Regions from separate parts of the Homo sapiens genome. Here region 1 is linked to region 2. The links are contacts of gene promoters, found by promoter capture Hi-C in blood cells and fetal thymus (Javierre and others, 2016). All regions are on one chromosome and are shown on one strand. Each heading gives the region's core, a stretch centred on a gene start or on the middle of the fragment in contact. The rest is flanking DNA. Distances are from core to core; before and after follow the strand shown.

Region 1 (6,744 bases), core at 3,531-6,030, 150 kb before region 2:
TGTGGTTAGAACCATTATACATTTTTATAAGTCTTATTATTAAAAAATATTAGTATATACAGCCTTTCTATTTTGGGAATGATGTAAACTCTATAGCTATATTGTGCATTACAGTGATCCTTAACCATATACCTCCTCTGTTGCCCAGGCTGGAGTGCAGTGGTGCAATCTAGGCTCACTGCAACCTCTGCCTCCTGGGTTCAAGCAATTCTCCCTGCCTCAGCCTCCCAAGTAGTTGGGATTACAGGCACCCACCACCACGCCCATCTATTTTTGTTTTTTATTTTTAGATGGAGTTTCGCCATGTTGGCCAGGCTGGTCTCGAACTCTTGACCTCAGGTGATCCACCCACCTCGGCCTCCCAAAGTGCTGGGATCACAGGTGTAAGCCACCATGTCTGGCCATATACAGCTTTTTTACCAAGTTTGAGGAACTGAATTTGAAATTTTATTTAATTCTAATTAATTTACTTTTTAAACTTAAAAATGATACTTGATTCAGTTATTAGAAAACTTATTTAGGAGTAACTTGAGTCTAAAAATCTGCTTTTCAGCCATAAGTTTTATGAAAACTACAAATCAAGTATTTTTAAATAAAATTTAACTTTTTTTTTTATTTTTGAGTCGGGGTCTTGCTCTATCACCCAGGCTGGAGTGCAGTGGCGCGATCTCTGCTCACTGCAAGCTCCGCCTCTCGAGTTCACGCCATTCTCCTGCCTCAGCCTCCCCAGCAGCTGGGACTACAGGTGCACGCTATCACGCCCGGCTAATTTTTTTTTTTTTTTTTTTTGTATCTTTAGTAGAGACAGGGTTTCACCGTGCTAGCCAGGATGGTCTCGATCTCCTGACCTCGTGATCCGCCCGCCTTGGCCTCCCAAAGTGCTGCGATTGCAGGCGTGAGCCACTGCGCCCAGCCAAAATTTAGCATCTTAATTGTGATGTGCTGTTATTATGAAATACCAGATTTCACAGTTAGTAAGGAAAGAGCATGCAAAATATCTCATTAATTTTTATGTCAATGATGCATTGAAATTATATCTTAGATATATTGGGCTAAATAAAACATTAAGATTAATTTTAATTGTTTCTTTCTATTTCTTTGATAGTGCTACTAGAAAATTTTAAGTTACATATATGGCTTGCATTTTATTTCTATTAGACAGTACCACTATAGAGAGAAGTAAATTTTTTGCCTTGTTAATTATCTGACCTATTATAAATACCTGATCCAGAATTTAATTTTTATTTAATATCATTTTCCCCTACCAGATAGAGAAGCTATTCTGGAATCAGATGCCAGAGTGAAGGAACAACGTAAAGGAGCTGGAGAGAAAGCCTTATACCATGCAGGCTTATTTTTATGGCACATTGGTCGCCATGATAAAGCAAGGGAATATATTGACAGAATGATCAAAATATCAGATGGTAGTAAACAGGTAGCTATTTTTCTGAGTTTAAAATAATAACATTAAAAAATGCTTATGTTATTGATATATCCAGTAGTATCTGTGATTTAGCTCTTTATTATTGTTCACTCTATTGCCAGTTTGTAAATAACAGCTTTATTTTAACCCATTTATGGTTATCAATATGGTTAATAGTGTATTGTAGAATAGGAATTCTCTAAGGTTAGTTTTATGCTACTGAGTCTTCAAAGATCCCTGCCTGGTTCCTTCTCTCTGTTTTTCTCTTTCTTTTTCTCTACCTTTTTTTCCTTCCCTCCATATTTTGTCCTTTCCTTTCTCCCTCTCTCCTTATTGAACAGCTCTAGATACAAGGTACCATTATTTGTACTGTTAATAATGCAAAGGAAAATAATACATAAACTTTGCTTTCATGAATGAATAACCCAGTAGTGCATAGAGCACATCCCCAGCTAATATTGTGAGAAAAATGATAGATGATATGAGAGATATGTGATTAAAGTATGCAAGAAAATAATAGCTAACATTTATTGCTTGCTTACTTTGTGCTAGGCACTGTTTTAAATTAAGGAGAGATCACACGCTTAAGTGTTAAGAGAATGTGAAAGAATTTTTTTGAAGGAACTAGCATTTGAGCTAAAACCTGAAAGATGGATACAATTTCAACAGGCAAAGATTATGGGAAAGGGAAGTAGGTACTCCCAAGGTGAGAAATAATAGATGGAAATGAGACATGTTACTTGAGGGTACACTAAGATACTCATATTTGATGGAATACAGGATACGTTGATAACGAGAAGGGAAGAAAAGCTTGGAGAGGTAACTTGAGACAAATTGAAGGATCTTGACTGCTAGTTAAAAATATTTGTATCTGATTGACATGCATTGAGAGGCTATTGAAGACTTTTAACTATGGTAGTGATTTTATTAGAGTGCAAATCCAGAAGATTAATTAGACAATGGTTTCTTGGATGAAGTGGCTTGAGAATAAACTGAAATGCAGTGAAAAGAAAAAGATAGTACTTCCTTGTGGAAGGTTTTGAGGCACTACACTAAAATATTGTACAGTGAGTACAAAGTTCAAAATTTTTAAATACCCACAGGACCTGTGAACTGATAATAGTTTAGAAAGATAACAAGTTGTCACGTATTAGGATGTCTTTGAGGCCTTAAGCCTAAAAAAATTAGAGACCAGTTAGCATAAATAGAAAATACATTGGCATAAGAAACTAATCTTAAAGGGAAGTGATCTATTTGTCTTAAGACATGCTGTATTTCTGGTGCTGGCAGAACAGTAAGATGGAGATAGCAGATGAATTTCTGGAAAAAGAAAAATTTAGAAGAGGTTTTCGGCTAGAAATATAGGTTGGGAATCATCCACACAGAGACAATAGTTAAAACCATTCAATGATGGCACTGATTTAGCACATAGCATTGGTTAAGATCCTTATTTGTATTTTCGGGTGAAATACAGGGAGGTAAATATAGTCTTAGTTAAAGGTTTATAAATTTGTCAGTTAACCTAGATTTTTTTAATAGAAAAAGCACATTTCACAGTTTTTTATTTGACCTTAAAGAGAAAAATAACCAGTTTTTATCTTGTTTTCAATCCCATATGTCTTACAACCCATCGGCCCACTAACATGTGTAAAGATAAATATCCATGAGTTCTTCAGTTTATAATTTCTCAGGCTATCCACCTGTCATTTGAAATTCAATGGACTAATCAAAGAGGTTAAGAAGATTGTTGCCAGATTATCTGAATCTTTAAGATATGTGAAGCAAGGCTTCTTCTGTTATTTCATCTTAGTTCATTTAGACGGTTTGTCCAAAAAGAAACAACAAATTCTCATCTATATATTGAATTTCATGTTTAAGTGTTATTAATTGTCAATTACTAGCAAAGTCTCAGAGAAAATAATGGTTTTAACACTAATGGAATATTTGATAAGCTTCTTAATTTTAATATTGAGCTTAATAGTAATGTTAAAGGCTGAAATTTGTAGTATAGTTCCCAAGACACTAGGCTGGCAAGGGTTCAAAAGTGATTTCACTAACAGAATTTTATTGTTCATAACATATTTGATAGAGTCCTTTTTGTTATTAATTGCCAGAAAAATGACATTAGGCTCTTTCATTAACATTTATTTCTCTCATTTCTAAAAAAGTAAAAATAGAATTATTCATTTTACAGGGACACGTTTTGAAAGCATGGCTTGATATTACAAGAGGAAAAGAGCCTTACACTAAAAAAGCACTGAAGTATTTTGAAGAGGGACTCCAAGATGGGAATGATACTTTTGCTCTGCTGGGTAAGGTGAGTTGGAGTTAGGGTAAATAAATCATGTTTCAAAATATATTCATAATATATTTGAAACCTGACAAAACCAAGTAGCTCAAAAAAGTTGATAATTTTCATGATACTGTTGTCAGCTCACAGCTGTAAGGTAGACTGGCATTTGTGTAGGACAATGAGCAATACACTAGAGAAATGTATTCCCTGCCAGAGTTCCTGAATCCTGGATCAGCTGTAACTGTTAATTGTTGTTGTTGTTTTGGTTCACACATTCTTTCCTCAGCATTTATTATGTGTCTTATGTATGTGAGGCATCCCTCTAGATATTAGAAACCCTGAGCAAGAGAAAACCTCTTGTTTTTATGGAGCTTATATCCTACTGATGGAGGCAGACAATAAACAAAATAAGTAAGTTATATGGTATATTAGAAGGTGATAAGTATAATGGAAAATACAGCTGGAAAAGCTAGGGCATGAACTTCCAGTTTTACATGAAGTGGTCGGAGAAAGTGACATTTGAGCAAACACATTTATGGAGGTGAGGGTTAAAGCCCTGCAGGCATCTGGGGAAAGTATTTCAAATAGAGGAGATGATGAGTTCAGGTACCCTAAGGTGTATTCAGGGCTAGCAAGGAGGCCAAAGTGGGTTGAGTAAAGAGAACAGAAGTGAAGGCCTGAGGAAGAAAGGTGGGATGGGGGTGAGGAGGAGTGGTGGGCCTGGCCTGTTCTGTAAGGCCTTTGGCTTCTACCTTCTATTAGAGAGACAGGCAGCCAATACAAAGTTTTGAACAGAGAAATAACATGATCGGACATACATTTTGAGGGATGAGCAATTGAAGGAGTCATTAGAACTTACTGATGGATGGAAATATTTAAGTAGGACCCTTTCTTCAATCCCCATTGATGCTATCTAAATGCCTTAATTTTTTTTTGACTCAGCAAAAAGAAATTATATGTTGGGAACAAGTCTGCTAGATAAGCAGTAATTTGGAGGGATAAAAAAGAAGGGGAGAGGATTCATGTCTTGACTTTTGTTAATGTCTCCACATCACTTTTCCTGTCACTTTGTGTGGACAGTAAGCCTGTTGAACATCTTGTGTTCAGGCCCACTACCCTCAAGTTTTACCTAATAGCACTGCTGAAGAAATTGGCCATATACTTTTCTTGATCATTTTCCTTCTCTTAAAGAAAAGCTAGTTGATAAAAATTTGCCTCATCATCTCTTTTTAATGTACTAACTATATTTATAGCTTTATTTTTTCTGACTATGAGATACATGAACATAGTAAAACTTTTTTTCAGAAAATACAATAACATCTGAATGAGAAAATGAGCATCACCATTGGAAATAACCAGTTAAACTATTATATATAATATCTCTTCATGTCAGTAAATCTACGTCTACAAATTTATATCATCATTTTTAATGATTACTTAACATTTTATTAAATTAGATATACTATAATTTTCTCCTCTAGGTACATTTGGGATTATTTTATACATAAACAATTCTGCCATAAATATCATCTATATACTTCCTTGTGGTCTTGTCCAATTATTTCCTTCAGATAATTCATAGAAGTGAAAAATGTTGAAGTAGAGGGATTTGTTTGAACTGTATTTTGCTTGTTCTTTAAAATCATATATTCTTTAACCTGAAAATAATTTCTTAAAAAAGATGCAAAATTTCTAAAATTTCTTAAAATTTTAGATGCTACTTGAAAATTTCCTGGAAACATTTTAATCTAAAAAGATAATTTTGTTTTAAATGGAAACATTATTTTATGGTATTTCCGAGAACATTTTAAAAAATTTTATCCTTTAATCATGTTTTTCAGCCATTTAAAAGTAAATTTTAAAACACAATAGCTTATATAATGTATTTGTATTATTCTGTGATGTTTTAAAATTTTGTTTTGACAAAAACTTAAAAAGTGATAACTGCTCCTCACAGAAAAGTAAGTATTAAACGCTCATACTCTGCCTGCTCTGCGTTATGAGAACTTTGATATGAAAGATCACAGTTTGGATATCACTTTTTTTCCCTTCCATTAGGCACAATGCCTTGAGATGCGCCAGAATTATTCAGGTGCCCTGGAGACTGTGAACCAGATAATCGTGAATTTTCCGAGCTTCCTTCCTGCTTTTGTTAAGAAAATGAAATTACAACTAGCCTTGCAGGATTGGGACCAGACAGTTGAGACAGCACAAAGGTTAAGTAATAAAAGATGACACAAGTCTCTTTGGATTTGGTTATAATTTTGAGAAAAAGCGACATCTGTGAATTTTTTTCATAAGGGTTTTTAAATTTGATTTTTTTCAAACAGTGTGGAACCGAGGAAATACTTAAAATCATACTGCTTTTAAACATTGAATTTATTGATTTACATAAATATTTGATTCCTGGTTTAAGACAGACACTCTTTTTAGGCAAACAGGCCAATATCCCTGTGGTCATGAAGCTTATATTTAAGTGAAAGGAACCATATACTAAGCACACCAAATAAGTATATTGTGTAGTATGTTAGAAAGTATAAGTGCTATGGGGAAAAGATAAACCAAGAAAGAGATGGGGAGTGTTGAGGGGTTCAATCTTATGGGATGGTCATGGAAGGCTGAGACCTTTGAGCCATCTTCTAAAGAAGGTAAGGGAGTAAGCCATGCAGATATTTGAGAGAAGACTTTGCAGAAAGAAGGAAAAGCAAATGCAGAGTCCCCGAGGTGGGAGCACATGTCATATGTTTGAGGAGTGGGAAGGAGTAAGAGAGGTGAGTAAGGTGTGAGGTCTGAGACAAAGGGTGGGAGTGAGCCCGTGCTAGATGGTGAAGGGTCTTGTTACCCATGTAAGGATTTGGGGTTTTCTTCTGAAGCATGAGGTTACTGGAGGGTTTTGAGCAGAGGAGTGCCATCATCTAAATTCTGTTTTAAAAGAATCACTCTGCCATGTGCAAAACAGACTGTGGGCGAGCAGGCAAAGGCAGAAGCAGGGAGAACCTTTTGAAAGCTGTTGCCATCATTGAGAAAT
Region 2 (7,039 bases), core at 845-3,344:
CTCTTTCTCTCTCTCTATATATATGACACTCAACGTGCACAAGTAATGCCACACTCAGAAAAACTGCTTCCTTCTTTAAATTGTCTGTCTCCATTGTAAAACTGACAGTCAAATTTTAGTAACTCCTGATCTTTTTTGTTTCTTCTGTTCTTTTTAGACTCCTCATCCAGCATTTTGGTCCTGTTTGCTGGCTCTCTCTTTTAATAGGTCTACCCTAGCTTCTCTTTTCAGTTGTTATTTGACGTTACTAGTCTTGCTGTCAATGCATCTCAGTCCTTGGATTCCAGATTGTTATTCTATATCCATCTGCTCTGTCCTGATTGTCAGTGAAAAGTGTTGCTCTTCGCCTGGTGGGACATCAAAACTCTGACAATCTTTGGCTCTTCATTCAGAGATGGGTGGTGCGTGCAAAAGGGTACAGGTTTCTTGGTTATACATTTAGGATACCTTACAAATTTTCCAAAGACTAACATTAACCTCTGGTTAGGGGTAAACGACAAAGTGGCACAACGAAGAAGAAGGAGAAGGAGAAGAGAATTTCAGTAGTTAGTATTTTCAGTTCTGGACCTGGACCTAAGGAAAAACACTGCCAAGTTAGTATATCAATACACACAAGTATCTCCTGAACTATTTTTTTGTTTGTTTGTTTTTGGAGGGAAAGGGAGCTTGGCAATTGCTTGTAGGTACTGATATTAAAATGTTGCAAATACATGGAGGTTCCTTGGTGCTCGCAAAATAACCATGACATGTAAAACAAGCAAAGAACTACCTAGTTTACTAAAGTCTTAAACCCTAACTCATAGATGTCCTAGTATAAAATAGCACTATGGATGCTAAAACCAATGTCTTAGAGTAGTCAAATACTAAAGATACACTTGTTGATACTATACTAAACTGTATTTTAAACCTTATTTTTAGGTCACGCATAGCACTAATAAAACAGTGAATAAGCACCATAAGAGCATGTCAAAATGTAGGAGGAAGGCCACAACTAAACTTCATAGTAAAACCTACCACCATGTGATTAAACACGACACCAAAAAGTTTTTAGCTAGTTTTCTATTTATATCCCTAGATATCTTTGGGATAGGGCCAAAGAAATGAGTTCATAGAAAGGTATAAAGGCCATTTTAAGTCCTGGTTTTGGGTGTGTCAATGTTTGTTGCAGCAGCAGAAGGAAGGCTGAAACAGAAAGTTGTGTCATAAATGGAACAAATACTGTTTAACAATTTTTTTTTGTCTTAAAAACAGCAAAACCCACCATCTTCCTGGAGTCTGCGTTGTTCTCTTCCAGAATAGATGTTGAGCTTTTAAACAAACCTGCAGTAGAAGCAAGCCCTCTCCAGGAAATCCCAATCTCTTTCCAAACAGGGACAGCAAAGGTTCTCTCTGTTGTGGCTGTTTTTCCCTCTCTTCTGGGAATTGGTTTGCCTTCTGAGAGCATCCCAGGAAGGGGAGGTGCGCCCCAAATTGGCGAGGCTCTGCCAAATACCAAAGGCTCTTCTTTGGAAGAAGACTCCTCCTTTGGACGTGAGGCGCCCCTACCAGAGCGCCCGCGTACAGAAACGGAAACCACTAGCTGCGCTGAAGTGAGTCAAGTGATGAAATCAAGACTACACGGGAAGGAAGCTCACGAAACCTAACTGGTGACAGAAGCTGCTGAACCCTGCCCGAAGAAACCACATGAGCCAGCAGTTGCTGCCCTCCCGAAGTGGTCCTCGGAGGCAGCGCACCCCTTCATTTTGGCGAACCGAGGAGGAAGGGAGGAACCGTGTGGGGGAAATCTAGAACTTCTGGTTCCCCAAGGACCCAGCAGACTGTGTTCTGGCTACAAGGTGATCACTGCCACCAGGTCAGTGCAGGATTCCTCCAATGTAGATGGGCCGGGAGCCACAACTTGCGCGGAGCAGCAGCCTCGCCGACCACTCAGAGAGAAGCCGCGCGACAGCCAGGCTTGGCCCGGACGGCGCCCCCACCCTGCGCGCGCGATCCAAGGTTCTCACCTGGAGCGCTCAGGTAGGGCTGGGGCGGGGCGGGAGGCTGGCGCGCAGGCGCGGAAGTGGGGCCTCGCCCCTGCCGACGTCGCAGGCTGGAGCTCACCTGGGAGACTCCAAGTGGAAGCCGAGCCTCGGTTCTGCCTCTCCAGGCAACGCGGGAGGCCCAGCGGGAAGGCAGGAGGCGGCGGCGGAGGAGGAGCTCTACTGAGCCGCAACTGTGGCGACAGCAACCGGAGTCGCAGCCGCCGCCACCTGCACCTGGCGCCTAGCCCACGTCCAGCGCCTGCCCGGCCGCCGCTTCCCGCCACCCTGCCCTGCCCACCCGCCAGGTAAGCCGGCGGCAGGCGGAGGGAGACGCGGTACCCCTGGGCTGCGTTAGAGCAGGCGGGAGGACGGCCGCAGGGGTTCACGTGTTGGGGACAGGGCTACGGTCCAGGTGGCCGGTTGGAGACGGTCTCGAGAGCAGTGTGTCGGTTGCCCCTGGAGAGATCCCGAAAGGGGCGCCCTGGGCCAAGGGGCAGGTGGCGCCTCGGGGGGGAGCCCGGTCACACCCTCTCGCCCACGGTGCCCCCGCCAGTCCCTATGGGGCGGCCCCTGAGGAGCTGGACGGAGACCAAAGACCTGGTGGCCCCGGACTTGCCCTTGGGAGGGTCGCAGCGTGGGGACCCTGAGAGGGAGGGCCCGGCGGGAGGCGGGCGCGCTTCCACTCCGGCTAGCAGGTTGCCTGTCTCCTCCAGCCTCTCTGCCCGAGAGGACATCCCGCGACAGCGAAAGACATGGCTTTGCCAGGCAACTTTCCTAGCCGGGGACCCCAAACAGTTCTAGGCTGCAAACCGCGGCCGCCGAGCCATTTAAATGGTTTCCGAGTGGTTTGGAAAGGGCTCTGTGGCCGGGACGCGGACACCCCTCTCTCTCTGTTTCGACTCTGCACTTTTCCGGGTGCGCTCTCCAGGCCAGAGTTGGGCCCACTTTCCTGATCAATGGAGAAGAGTTCTTTTCTTCCGTGGCGGGAAGAAATCCAACTGCCACGCACCAACCACTCACCATCTCGTTAGAGGACCTGTTGACTTAAGGACCTGCATATCGCGGCTATGGTTTGCCTGTGGCATATGACTCAAAGGTTCAAAAAAACATTGTTTCAGGATCCTGCCACGTCTAAGCTTGGGTGTGCCAGGCCCAGATTCCTTTCCCTGCCTAATTAGGCTTTTCTGAAGCCTAAGAATTGAGGGTGAAACTGGCGCTTACCTTAGACTTTTATTTCCTTCTCTTTCCAACTCATCAAAGAAACTATTTCTGTTTTAAGAACCCCATCGAGTTACCAATATTTCCGATTCTTGAAAACGTTAACATAACTTGCTATAGAAGTTACACTACATAATGAAGACATTTACAGTCAAATTCTATAGCTAAAAAATATTAAAGTGACAGCATTTTAATTAGAAAATCTCTGCTTGTGGGAAAATCTGTTGCTTCTTTTATTGTATATATTTTTCTTTGCGTTTGTGGCTAAAATCCATGAGGTTAAAGTCACACGCTGCCATTAGATTCTTTTTTTTAATTTAACTTTTAATATCTGAAATCTAGTGCACATGTTAAACTTTCCAAGCAATTTGTACCGAGAATCAATCTTTATATATTGCTTTAACCAACATTTTTACGTAGAAGTTTCTGATAATAATAACAATTCCATTGTTTTGTTCTATCTCCACACATTTTAAAAATATTTTTTAAATTGCACGTTTTACTTAAAATGCCTGATGCAACATGTAGTGGGGTTATTTTTCTTCTTCTTTTTAAGATTAGATGGAAATCTAAAAGCCAACCACAGCATAACATGATGTAATTATTAATTCAATCACCACTTTTCTACATTTCTTAAAAGGATCTCACCTGACCTCTTAATCTTGTCTCCATACAGAGAAACAAATGTGCTAAATACTGTTTAAATATGAGATATAGGAGTTGTTCCCTGAATTTTGAATATTAGTCTTCATTACTTACTAGGCAGATGTTACCAGACTGTCTTTCCTCTTAACCTCTAGTGAGAAATGTAACATGTTTTCATTAGCTAGAGTAACAGTGTAACTTAATCTATCTGTTAAATAGGAAAAATAATACTTTCCTAGATTAAGATAACAAAACCTTAAAAACAATCAGGAGTATCTTCCAGCCCTAGCATTCTCGAGATCCCTTTCTCACTTTGGAGATTCAATACTCAAACCATCCATTTATGAAAAATTGAAGCCAAGAGAGGTATTCTAACTTCATTTCACTCAGAGATGGCATGATCATTCCAGTGGCTTGACTCATGACTCCTGTATCTTACTTTTCACCACCCACATCCTCACTTACCATAAGATGTTTATCTTTTTTCTTTCATATAATTTGTAAGGCCTTTGTAATTACAGAATTGTCCATTGCTCTTTCTTCACTCTGATTTACCCTCATTTCTACTTGTCCAAATATTGCCTGACTTCGTGGAAACTACCCAGTGAAGGCATCATGCTCCTCTCATTGTGGAATAGCATGCATATTGATGATGCCATGTCAGTTGAGACTTTTAGTTCCTTCTTGGTATTTCCAAGCCACAGTTAATTTTTTAAGTCAATGTGGATAACATTATTTAGTCTTCTGATCTTTTTATTATATTGGCTTAAAATATATTTTATGAGGCAGCTACCCAGTGCCTTTCATCCATTTGCAACACTCCAGATTTTTTATTTCAAGCACACTTCCTTAACACTAAGTTTCTTTAAACTTTTTTTTCCTTTTACTGCAATCCTCAATAACTAATTTATTCTCTGCCTCAACTCTGTAAACTCCAATGTGAGTGTATATAAATGAAACAAGTTTTATTAATATAAAACAGTGCTTAACCTTACAACATGTATGTTCTTTATTATTTTATTTTTAAAAACGTTGGTCTAAACAATTAGACTGCTTTATGACCACGAAAGTGCTGGAGCCCTCAATGTGAAAATAGCACTATTCTGTTGAATTTTTGTTCTTTTAAAGGCTGATTTTTCTACCAGCTTTCTTTTTCTCTGTCTCATACATGCGTATACACACACACACACACACACACACAGGCACACACCCACTCACATGAAAGAAAATAAATTATTTCTTAAAAACTTTACTGTAATCCTAATTAAACATGTATTGTAGGGCTTGAGGCTCCAGGACCTTGGTGCTAGATTAAATCTTTCAAATATTAAGAACTACATGAAACCTTGTTCATTATACATATTTTGTGTTAAATGGGTTCTCATCATGCTGTAGTGTATTTGGGAACAGGAAAAACTAGAAATATTTTTTTCTGAGGGGATTTTGATGATAAGAATTCAGTGAAATTTTGAGGGAGAAACCTTCTGTCCAGCTCTATTCTGAACTCTTAAAGTTTTATGACTGAGTTAGAGTTCTGGGTGGAGTCTGAAAATTTATTAGAGAAAACATAGCCAGTTTATTATTTGGTTTATATTCTGTTAATATTTAATGCTTTTCTTTTTTACTATGAAACAAGTATGAGACAAATTGTAGGAATTACACTCCCCCTCTCCACAAAAAGACTACATTGAGAGATTAAAATAGATCCCTCAATGATTTGTAGGAATGTAGTCTTGGAAGCTCTGATTGGATAATTAAGCCTTCCGTAGACACTTTCAATTTTAACCTGCCTTTACATTCTTGGTGGGTGAAATATTTCTCCTAAGGAAAATATTATCATATTTAGGATTTTAGAAATGATCAGTGCCTGAATCATCTTCACATGTATTCAGTTCTTTAGTCCATCAAGTGCAAAAATACATTTGGAATGATAGATACTTTATAGATATAAAATCCTATTGAAAAGGAAGGTGTTTTCAGTTAGCTGTTCAATTATGCATTTAGTTAGTATCAAAATAATTCATACTATGTAATTTGGGTGAAATTTAACACAACTCATGTACACTAAGGGGGAAAACTGAATTCAAATCAATTCCAGCAGTGGCAAGAGACAAAAGTACATTCACTTATTGCAAAGCAAAGACAAGTAGGACTCTGAATTCTAGGTCATTAGAGACTACTGACAATTATATGACACTTCCTTGGGTCATTCTCAGAGTTGGGCTCTTATTTTTGGCACTAAAGAGAGAATATTCCCCCAAGTACACCTTTTCCCTATAATTGTTTCAGTTTCAAACTGTCCAAACTAATTTTCTTTTCTATATGATTGCCTATTGGACATCTTTAACATTTGTTCATCACTGGAGATTATATATGTTCAAACCAGAACCTTCATCTCATCAAAAAACAAATGAACAAACAACCTGCTCACTCTCTGTATTCTATTTATAGATAGTAGTACATTGTACCATTTCTTATCTATAATTCAAAAATCATCCTCTGAAAACAAAGCAAAACAAAATTTAACTCATTTGTTAGCAAAACTTGAACTCAGTTGGAGCAAAGCCTGAGTGAACTGTCAGGAGGCTATTGTGATTGTGTATTCAACTTAGTGGATTATGTCCAGCTGCAGAAATAGTGCTGTTTGATTACATAATACTGCCCAGGCCCTGCTGGGGTACACTTTTACATTGATTATGTAAACCATATCACCTTTCTAACATCCAAAAAAATCAGATTTTTTTTTTTTTTTATGAGACAAGGTCTCACTATGTTGCCCAGGCTGATCTTGAACTCCTGGACTCAAGTGATCCTTCCATGTCAGCCTTCCAAGTAGCTGAGACTACAGGCTGTCAAATCCTGAATTTTGAAATATATTTTGCTGCAGAGATTTGGGAGAGTGAATCATAAATGTGTACTACCATCCAGGTGCCATACCAGAAATCCAGAGGTAATTTTAAACTCTTTTTCTTAGCCTCTACAACTGCTATGGTCTGAATGTTTGTGTTTTTCCAAAATTCATATGTTGAAATCAAATCCAATGTATTGGTATTAGGAGTAGGGTCTTTGGGAGGTCATCAGGTCACGAGGGCCTTGGCCTCGTGTGTTTTTGTAAAAGATAATGTCCTTATAAAAGAGGACTGAGAAAGCTTGTT

Evidence for each region. The method cuts DNA at HindIII sites, captures the fragments that hold promoters and counts their contacts. A CHiCAGO score of 5 or more calls a contact.
Region 1: a contact is called between a fragment that was not itself captured here and the fragment with the promoter of GALNT3 in region 2, in 1 of 17 cell types (neutrophils). The highest score is 6.8, in neutrophils.

Annotation. Positions count from the first base shown.
Region 1 is chr2:165,940,215-165,946,958 of GRCh38, reverse strand. TTC21B (tetratricopeptide repeat domain 21B) reads left to right here. Exons shown (of 29, transcript NM_024753.5): 4 at 1,269-1,435; 5 at 3,618-3,740; 6 at 5,775-5,932. All of the region lies in intron 1 of TTC21B-AS1 (TTC21B antisense RNA 1), which reads right to left. Among named protein-coding and RNA genes, the nearest start is that of TTC21B-AS1, 9.7 kb to the right of the region's middle. The HindIII fragment of the contact is 2,806 bases long and covers 3,378-6,183 here.
Region 2 is chr2:165,789,302-165,796,340 of GRCh38, reverse strand. It overlaps GALNT3 (polypeptide N-acetylgalactosaminyltransferase 3), which reads left to right and starts at 2,094. Exons shown (of 11, transcript NM_004482.4): 1 at 2,094-2,326. LOC124906086 reads right to left here and starts at 2,755. Exons shown (of 6, transcript XM_047446887.1): 1 at 2,549-2,755; 2 at 2,004-2,422; 3 at 1,262-1,541. The coding sequence starts at 2,755. RefSeq lists silencers at 2,152-2,301, 2,372-2,461 and enhancers at 1,532-2,437, 2,438-3,344. The HindIII fragment of the contact is 5,078 bases long and covers 1-3,159 here.